Regions from separate parts of the Homo sapiens genome. Here region 2 is linked to region 1. Evidence: promoter capture Hi-C in human tissues and cell types (Jung and others, 2019). All regions are on one chromosome and are shown on one strand. The core of a region is centred on a gene start or on the middle of the fragment in contact, and the rest is flanking DNA. Distances in the headings are between cores, read along the strand shown. Region 1 holds the start of COG3 (component of oligomeric golgi complex 3). Region 2 overlaps COG3 (component of oligomeric golgi complex 3).

Region 1 (4,262 bases), core at 450-2,949:
CTGGAAAATTTATAGAGCAAACAACTTTTATTATCCAGGGTATAAAAGAGTTTGATAGCTGAGCCAAAGAAATTTCCACCTGCGCCTTCATTGATTTCAGATCCACTTCCGGTACCATATCCTAGAGGTGGAAAAAGAAACCCAAGAAAGAACGCCTATTTGATGGCTGAGCATACAACAGTGAATGTGAAGAGAACGTTTAAATCAAATCTCTAAAGTTGGAGGACAGAAAAAGTTGAAGACTCTAAACTCAATCTGCATTTGGACACAATTCCAAATCGTATAAAAAGAATGCTTCAGGCCAGGCACGGTGGCTCACGACTGTAATCCCAGCATTTTCGGAGGCCGAGGCGGGCAGATCACTTGAGGTCAGGAGTTCGAGAACAGCCTGGACAACAGGGCGAAACCCCATCTCTACTAAAAATACAAAAAATTAGCCGGGTGTAGTGGCAGGCACCTGTGATCCCAGCTACTCGGGAGGCTGAGACAGGAGAATCGCTTGAACCCGGGAGGTGGAGGTTGCAGTGAGCCGAGGTCACGCCACTGCACTCCAGCCTGGGCGACAGAGCGAGAGAAAAGAATGCTTCCAACATCAAAAGTAACCATCACCACTGCTTATATAAAATAATCCTCCTAAACCTGGCCCTCAAAACTGGAAAACGTTTGTCAAACATCTGACAATTCATGTTACTTCCTGCTATTACAACTAATTGAATTGAATCACACAAGAAGCAGTAGTGCATAATATCCTAATGGTAAGTGGATTAAACACATTGACTCTAACACCGAAAACCAGCACTGCTTAATAATGTACTGAGCCAACTTTCAAATAAAATTCATTTTTATTGCTTTGCAATAGGTGAAATAAATCTGATCTCCCATAACTTGCACTTGATTGAGAGCTCATAGTTCAATGTGCGATAAATGAAACTCACTCAGGACCAAGTTTTGGTCTCCCCAAGACCCCCATGGACAAAGCAACCTAGGTGAATCATTAAGGCGGTAAACGAGCACGCGCTGGAGACTGTCCTGCAGCACAGCACCTCGGGTTGACTGCCTCTCCTTCTGGGAGAGAGTGGGCAGCAGGATTACGCCTCGGCTGACAGGACGCCTCGTCTGGGGCAAAACGTTCGGTGCAAGGCTCCGGGCCAACCGTCCCATGCTGCTGGGGGAGGACTGGGTTCCGGCGAGCACCAGCTGCAGGACACCCCCACAGCCGTCCCCAGGCAGAATTAGAGTCGGGGTCGCAGGCAGAGCGAAGCCTGACAGCCTGGGAGATGAGGCCCCTCCCACCGGATCCGCCACCATGGCCAGGGAGGAGTGGAGAGATATCCTGGGCAGAGGCTAGTGAGGCCGGGGTCCTGCCGGGGCGCCCGAGGAGAATCCCAGCCCCATCGCCCCGGCCCGGTTCCTGCCCATCACCTCACCTCAGCTGGCACCGGCAAGTTCTCTGCCGCCGCCTTCAGCTCCAATACCGAGTCCGTCTGCCTGTCGGTCAGCGGCGCCGTCGTGTCCGGTCTCCGATCCCAGAGAGCCAGCTTTTCCCTAGCGTCCCGCTCCGCCGCCGCCTCAGGCAGCAGCAACAGCGCCGCCTCCGCCATCGCCGCCGCCCTCGCGGCCTTCAGCAGCAGCGAGATGGAGGGGACCCCGACAGAGAGACCTGGGCCACTTCCGGGAGAACCGGAGCTTCCAACACTGCACCGGCGGCGGGGCGGGACGGAATGCCCTGACCCCGGAAACGGTTCCGCAGTGTGGGGGGCGGGACCGAGGCCAGTACCGACGTGGCTTTAAATGGGTACGACTATTTCCGGTTGAAACGTAGAAGGTGGAGAAGACAGGACCCAATGGAAATAGAAATGCCCCTACCGGAAGTCTTTTCCTCAACATCAATAACTTTATTGTTACGTGTTGTACAGATTATTGACAACTGCGCTAAATCACCCTGCCGGCAGGAGACTTGGATCTACACCTCTCTGCTTACAGCTGGGTAGTCTGGGTAGAATGTGTGGAGTGTATGATTTCCATGTTGGCATGTTGACAATTTATGCCTCTTGGATCAAAACCAAAAGCATAAACTTTTCCAACATCCAGTAATTCCCCTACTAGAAAACTAATTTACGGAAACACATAAAAAATTCAAAGATGTGTGTATCTCAGACATCATTAATGGTATCAAATAACTGGAGACAACCTAAATGTCCAACATTGAAGAACTGGATCAAGAATTTGTGGCACAGACCAGGCGCGGGGGCTCAGGCCTGTAATCTCAGCACTTTGGGAGACCGAGGTGGGCGTATCACCTGAGGTCAGGAGTTTGAGACCAGACTGGCCAACATGGTTGAACCCCGTCTCTACTAAAAGCACAAAAATTAGCCAGGCGTGGTGGCACATGCCAGTAATCAGCCTGAGAGGCTGAGGCAGGAGAATCTCCTGAACCTGGAAGGTGGACGTTGCAGTGAGCAGAGATCTTGCCACTGCATTCCGGCCTGGGCATCAAGTGAGACTGTCTCAAAATGTATAATAATAATAATTTGTGGTACAGACATGTAATTCTACTCTACCATTTAAATCATATTGTAGATTTGAGCAACAAAATAAATAATGATAGTATTGGATCATAATTTACAGAATAAAATAAATACCCATGAGTCCATACTGCTATAAATAAACGATTGAATAAATAAATGGTGGAGAACAGACAATCTTCTACAAGTTATGGAGGCCTCTTCCTGCTCCTCCCTGGAGTCAAGGCAGGTGGAAACAGCTTCGTAGCAATTTTGACCATTGTCTGGGTAAAGTCTGAAGGCTTTATTCAGGCTTTATAGCACAAATCAGTGCCTGGCTATGTTCCCAAATGAAGGCTCTGATCTTTTAAGAGCAGAATTTGAGACCGGGCGCAGTGGCTCACACCTGTAATCCCAGCACTCTGGGAAGCCGAGGTGGGCGGATTACCTGAGGTCGGGAGTTCGAGACCAGCCTGATCAACATGGAGAAATCCCGTCTCTACTAAAAATACAAAAAAACTTAGCTGCGCGTGGAGGTGCATGCCTGTAATCCCAGCTACTCGGGAGGCTGAGGCAGGAGAATCGCTTGAACCCAGGAGGCGGAGGTTGCTGTGAGCCAACGTTGCACCATTGCACTCCAGCCTGGGCAACAAGAGCTAAACTCTGTCTCAAAAAAAAAAAGAATAGAATTTGAAGTTGGAAGAGAATTTTAAAATCATATAATCAAGCCCTTTCTGTCTACAGAGGAGCAAACTACAACCCGTAGAGGTGAAGCAAGCAGCCTAACATCCTGCAATCAGGTGGTTAACATCAGCGTCACCACTGGAACTTAGATATCCTGACTGTGTCTGACACCCTTTATATACCACAGCTTCTCCAAGTTGCCTGCTGTACAAAGCCCTTAAAAAATCTGCAGATCCCCAATGTTGATGTAAATAATTGTATTATATTGCTTAAGTATGAACAAAAATAAGACTTGACATAAGCTTTGGATGTTTATACCAAAATAGACATGCAAGTTACATGCCAACAGAAATATAACTAACATATAACGGTATATAACCAATAACATTCACATTAACAACTCAAGTGAGATGTGGGATATTATTTTGCTGGAAAACGAAATTGCTTCTGGCAACACGAAGACAGTCCTGACTACTGCTATACAGCTGCTTGGGAGTTCATCACACTTCTGTTATACCAGCAGCATGCTGTGTTCCCCACCATTTGAACTACTGGGAACACTTGACTCAGGGTAAATCCCTAATACCATTTTTCCTTTATCTGGCTTGTATATATCATTTGCATATTAAAACAACCCTGCTGTTTTTAGTAGCTTTATTAAAAATATTCTATATGCACAAACAAGGAGGGTGGAAGCTGAAATCATGTGGTAATCCTAAACTATAAAACTGTCATGTTGGTGATCCAGAATATGCATGAATATAGTTTTAAGAGTTGAAATGAGGCTGGGTGTGGTTGCTCACGCCTGTAATCCCAGCACTTTGGAAGGCTGAGGCGGGCGGATCATGGGGTCAGGAGATCGAGACCATCCTGGCTAACATGGTAAAACCCAGTCTCTACTAAAAATACCAAAAATTAGCCGGGCGTGGTGGCAGGCACCTGTAGTCCCAGCTACTCGGGAGGCTGAGGAAGGAGAATGGCATGAACCCGGGAGGCGGATCTTGCAGTGAGCTGAGATTGTGCCACTATACTCCAGGCTGGGCAACAGAGCGAGACTCTGTCTCAAAAAAAAAA
Region 2 (4,262 bases), core at 1,158-3,657, 42 kb before region 1:
ACAGTAAAGATACACGTACATCTATGCATCTGTATAATTTGGAGAGACAGACAAGAGTTCTTCGAACCGTAGGATACCACATTCCATGAAGATCTGCTGGAGAAATTGTGGTCTGTGGTCTAGGATTGAGGGATTCTGTTGAACCTAAAACCCAAGTGGAAAAGAAGACACATTTCACACATGTGGATATTTGTCTTACAATAATTTACATGGCAACTATAAACTGCTTATTCTCATTAGCTATAAGTAGCTAGAGGGCACCAATTTTTTCCCACCTCAGTTTTCATCAAGAATACCCTAAGAAATCTAAATCAGTGACAGGTGAGATTTAACACAGTAACTGAGAATACACATGAATATGGACATACATACATTCCAGCTTCATATATATATGCTCAACCCAAGTTGCTTTTCCCAAATTGTGATCAATAATCTTTATGGAACATAGGAAAAGCATAATCACATTATAGAATGCAGCCATTAAAAAGGAGGCAGATCGTCTGGGCACAGTGGCTCACGCCTGTAACCCCAGCACTTTGGGATGCCGAGGCAGGCGGATCATGAGGTCAGGAGTTCAAGACCATCCTGACCAATGTGGTGAAACCTCGTCTCTACTAAAAATACAAAAATTAGTCAGGCGTGGTGGCGTGTGCCTGTAGTCCCAGCTACTCGAGAGGCTGAGGCAGGAAAATCGCTTGAACCTGGGAGCCGGAGGTTACAGTGAGCCAAGATCTCGCCACTGCACTCCAGCCTGGGCAACAAAGTGAGACTCCGTCTCAAAAAAAAAAAAAAAGGAAGCAGATCTCTATGTAGTCATGAGGAAGGAAGCAGGTGGGAGCCTGTGGAGGTGGGGGAGTAACAAGAAAACAAAGCACTTCTAAACAGGGGGATTAATCAAATTAGGTTCACCTGTCAGACTGTCTTCCACACTCTGAGTCAAATCACATACAGGCCTAGTTAGTACATCCAATTCCCAGGTGACCAGAGCGGGCTTCCCCCCACCACTGGGAAGGTCAGAAAAGGCAGACTCTGGCGACTGTGAGGAAGAGCAGGTGGGGAGTATGGTTGAGCAAAGACACCTCTGTAAGGGAAGTACAATCACTTCTGGGTCGAGGGACCAAATTTCAAATGAACCATGAAAAGTGGAGCTGGTATAATACTTTGAGACAACAGGTGATATTGAAAGATGGACTAGGCATTAGAGGACATTAGCAAACTCATTAAATTTTTAGTGCAATAATGGTTTATTGTTAAGTAAAAGATGTCGTTATTTTTTGGAGATGCTGAAATACTCAAGGGTGAAGTGTCAATGACGTCAATAATTTAAAATGGTTCATAAAATATATATTTACACACACACCCCAACACATACAAATACACACATACACATATATGTATATATATGTGTATGTGTGTGTGTGTGTGTGTGTGTATATATATATATATATAAAAATATATATAAAAAATAAAATGTTAAGTCTTGAATCCAAGTTGTGGGTATGGGTGTTCATCATTCATCTTTCTTTCAACTTTTCTGTATATTTGGAATGTTTTCAATAATAAGAAAATAGAAGTAGATCTATGATACACTGGTATTAAGTTACAGAGCAAACATTAATTCCTTTTTATAAATGGTTATAGCAGCATATTCTTACAAGAAGGCCTGTAGGTTGTATAGCACAGATTTGAGGGGAAAGGGATGAGGGAGAAAGGTTGAAGCTTAGTGCTTTCTTTCCTTTTTTTTTTTTTTTTTTTTTTTTTTTTTTTAGGTTGGACCTAGGCTCTGTCACCTAGGCTGGAGTGCAGCGGCGCAATCTCAGCCCACTGCAACCTCCACCTCCTGGGTTCAAGTGATTCTTCTGCCTCAGCCTCCTGAGTAGCTGGGATCACAGGCTCATGCCACCACACCCGGCTAATTTTCTGTACTTTTAGTAGAGACAGGGTTTCACCATGTTGGTCAGGATGGTCTTGATCTCCTGACCTAGTGATCCACCCACCTCAGCCTCCCAAAGTGCTGGGATTACAGGCATGAGCCACCACACCCAGGCTTTTTTTTTTTTTCTTTTTTTCTGAGACAGAGTCTGGCTCTGTTGCCCAGGCTGGAGTACAGTGGCACAATCTCAGCTCACTGCAACCTCCGCCTATTGGGGTCAAGCAATTCTTGTGCCTCAGCCTCCCGAGTAGCTGGGATTACAGGCATGTGCCACCACACCCAGCTAATTTTTGTATTTTTAGTAGAGATGGGGTTTTGCCATGTTAGTCAGGCTGGTCTCAAACTCCTGACCGTGGGTGATCTGCCCACCTCGGCCTCCCAAAGTGCTGGAATTACAGGTGTGAGCCACCGTGCCTGGCCAGTACTTTCACTTTACAATTCTGTAAGCTTTTTTTCCAAAAACAAGTACTACTTGTAAAATTTTTTTTTCTCTCTCTCTCACCACTCCTATTTAACTTGTATAATTTTTAAATTTCTTCCATAAGAGCTCACTTTAAACTAACATTTAATTTGTATTAAGTTTCTTAAAGAAAAAGAATAAACAAATTACATCAAAGAATATTTAGGAGATGAAATATTTATAGTTTTCCTTAGGAATATGGTATGTGCAGGATCCCTTCTTCAAAATAAAGTGCCAAAAGAATTCTCCCAAATAAAAGTTTAGTCAAACAAATGTGTTTAAGTACTTTAAAGCCAGAAGTCAGCTTGTGTTCATTTTTTCCCTTTCCTATGTAACTAATACTAGTTCACCGGGGCAAACCCTCAAAAGCCAAGTGCCCTCTGGCTGCCACTCCTGAGGAGCAGAGCAGGCCCCGGGACCAGGGCTTCTCCCACAGCCCTCCTGCACGTCTGCCTCCGTCGTCCTCCACGGGCCTCACCTCCCCCTTACTTGCTCTACATACAGAACAAAGCTGTACTTTTTGAAGGTACTGATAACTGGTCTCTTCACAAGATGGGTCCCTCCACCAATCTGCCCTGACACCTCCTTGTATGCCATGAACTTCACATCATTTAAAGCCCTCCTTTCAGAGGCTTCTCATTCTCTCACTTCCAGCTTTAGAGGTGGGAACCAGGGAACCGGGAAACCAGGAAAAGTGATTATGACTATTCTTTTTGGTTTTGCTCCACTTCCTACCTGACTCAGAGCCTTGCTTTCCACCCCAAGTTCTATCGCCATTGTGATAACACTGATAACTGCACAGATGACGAGCTGTTCATCCTTACCTTCTCAACTCCAAAGACTTTCTCTTCCATCCTCACACCCCTACCCCAGGGGCAGATTTTCTTAATACTCGCAGAATCGCATTCTTATTACTTTCCACAGACTTCCTTCTTCCTCTCAACTGTTCCACCTCTAAAGTTTTAAAACTTAGCATGCCACTTTATAACTACAATGTTCTTGAGATTTCGATCTTCTCACCTGTTTACGCAAACTACACTGCCAACCCCTCCTCCTCTGACATCAATCACACCCTCTCACTTGCCCACTTCTGACCACGCTGGCTGTTCTTTCTTGGTGGGCTTAGTTTACTCCTCTATCTCCATTTGCTCCTTAACGTCAGCACTGGCTCAGTTTCTCTCCCAAGACGTCTGCTACAGTCACTCTACAATCTGTCCTAGGATGATCTTACACAAGCCCAAAGCACCAACTACACCTCATCCTTTATTTCTAAATCAGTCTTTCTCTCTACAGCTCTACGGCAGTGCTGTTCAATGGAAATATAATGTAAATCATAAATGTGACACAGTAAAACGTCACATTTTAAAAAAGTAGAAAAGTTAGCTAGGCGTGATGGCATGAGCCTACACTCCCAGCTACTTGGGAGGCTGAGGTGGGAGGTTGGCTTTAAGCCCAGGAGGCAGAGGTTGCAGTAAGCCAATATCATGCCACTGCACTCCATCCTGCCCGACAGAACCAGACCCTGTCTCCAAAAAAAGAGTAAAAAGAGGCCAGGCACAGTGGCTCACATCTGTAATTCTAGCACTTTGGGAGGCCAAGGTGGGAGGACTGCTTGAGCCCAGGAGTTCAAGACCCATCCTGGGCAACATAGCGAGACTCCATGTCTATTAAAAAAGAAAAAAATGGCTGGGCATGGTGGCCCATGCCTGTAATCCCAGCACTTTGGGAGGCCAAAACAGGAGGATTGCTTGAGCACAGAAGTTCGAAACCAGCCTGGGCAACACAGCGAGACCTCATCTCTTTGAAAGAAAAAAAAAAAGTAAAAAGAAAGCAGGATTGGTCAGGCGCAGTGGCTCACGCCTGTAATCC

What was found. Contacts are between HindIII fragments. The study calls those that stand out against the background at their distance.
Region 2: a fragment that was not itself captured here is called in contact with the fragment with the promoter of COG3 in region 1 in 2 of the 25 tissues and cell types used here (mesenchymal stem cells and mesendoderm cells).

Annotation. Positions count from the first base shown.
Region 1 is chr13:45,462,376-45,466,637 of GRCh38, reverse strand. It overlaps COG3 (component of oligomeric golgi complex 3), which reads right to left and starts at 1,699. Exons shown (of 23, transcript NM_031431.4): 1 at 1,428-1,699. The coding sequence starts at 1,601. The HindIII fragment of the contact is 8,447 bases long and covers 1-4,262 here.
Region 2 is chr13:45,505,574-45,509,835 of GRCh38, reverse strand. COG3 (component of oligomeric golgi complex 3) reads right to left here. Exons shown (of 23, transcript NM_031431.4): 15 at 20-144. Among named protein-coding and RNA genes, the nearest start is that of COG3, 43 kb to the right of the region's middle. The HindIII fragment of the contact is 4,110 bases long and covers 353-4,262 here.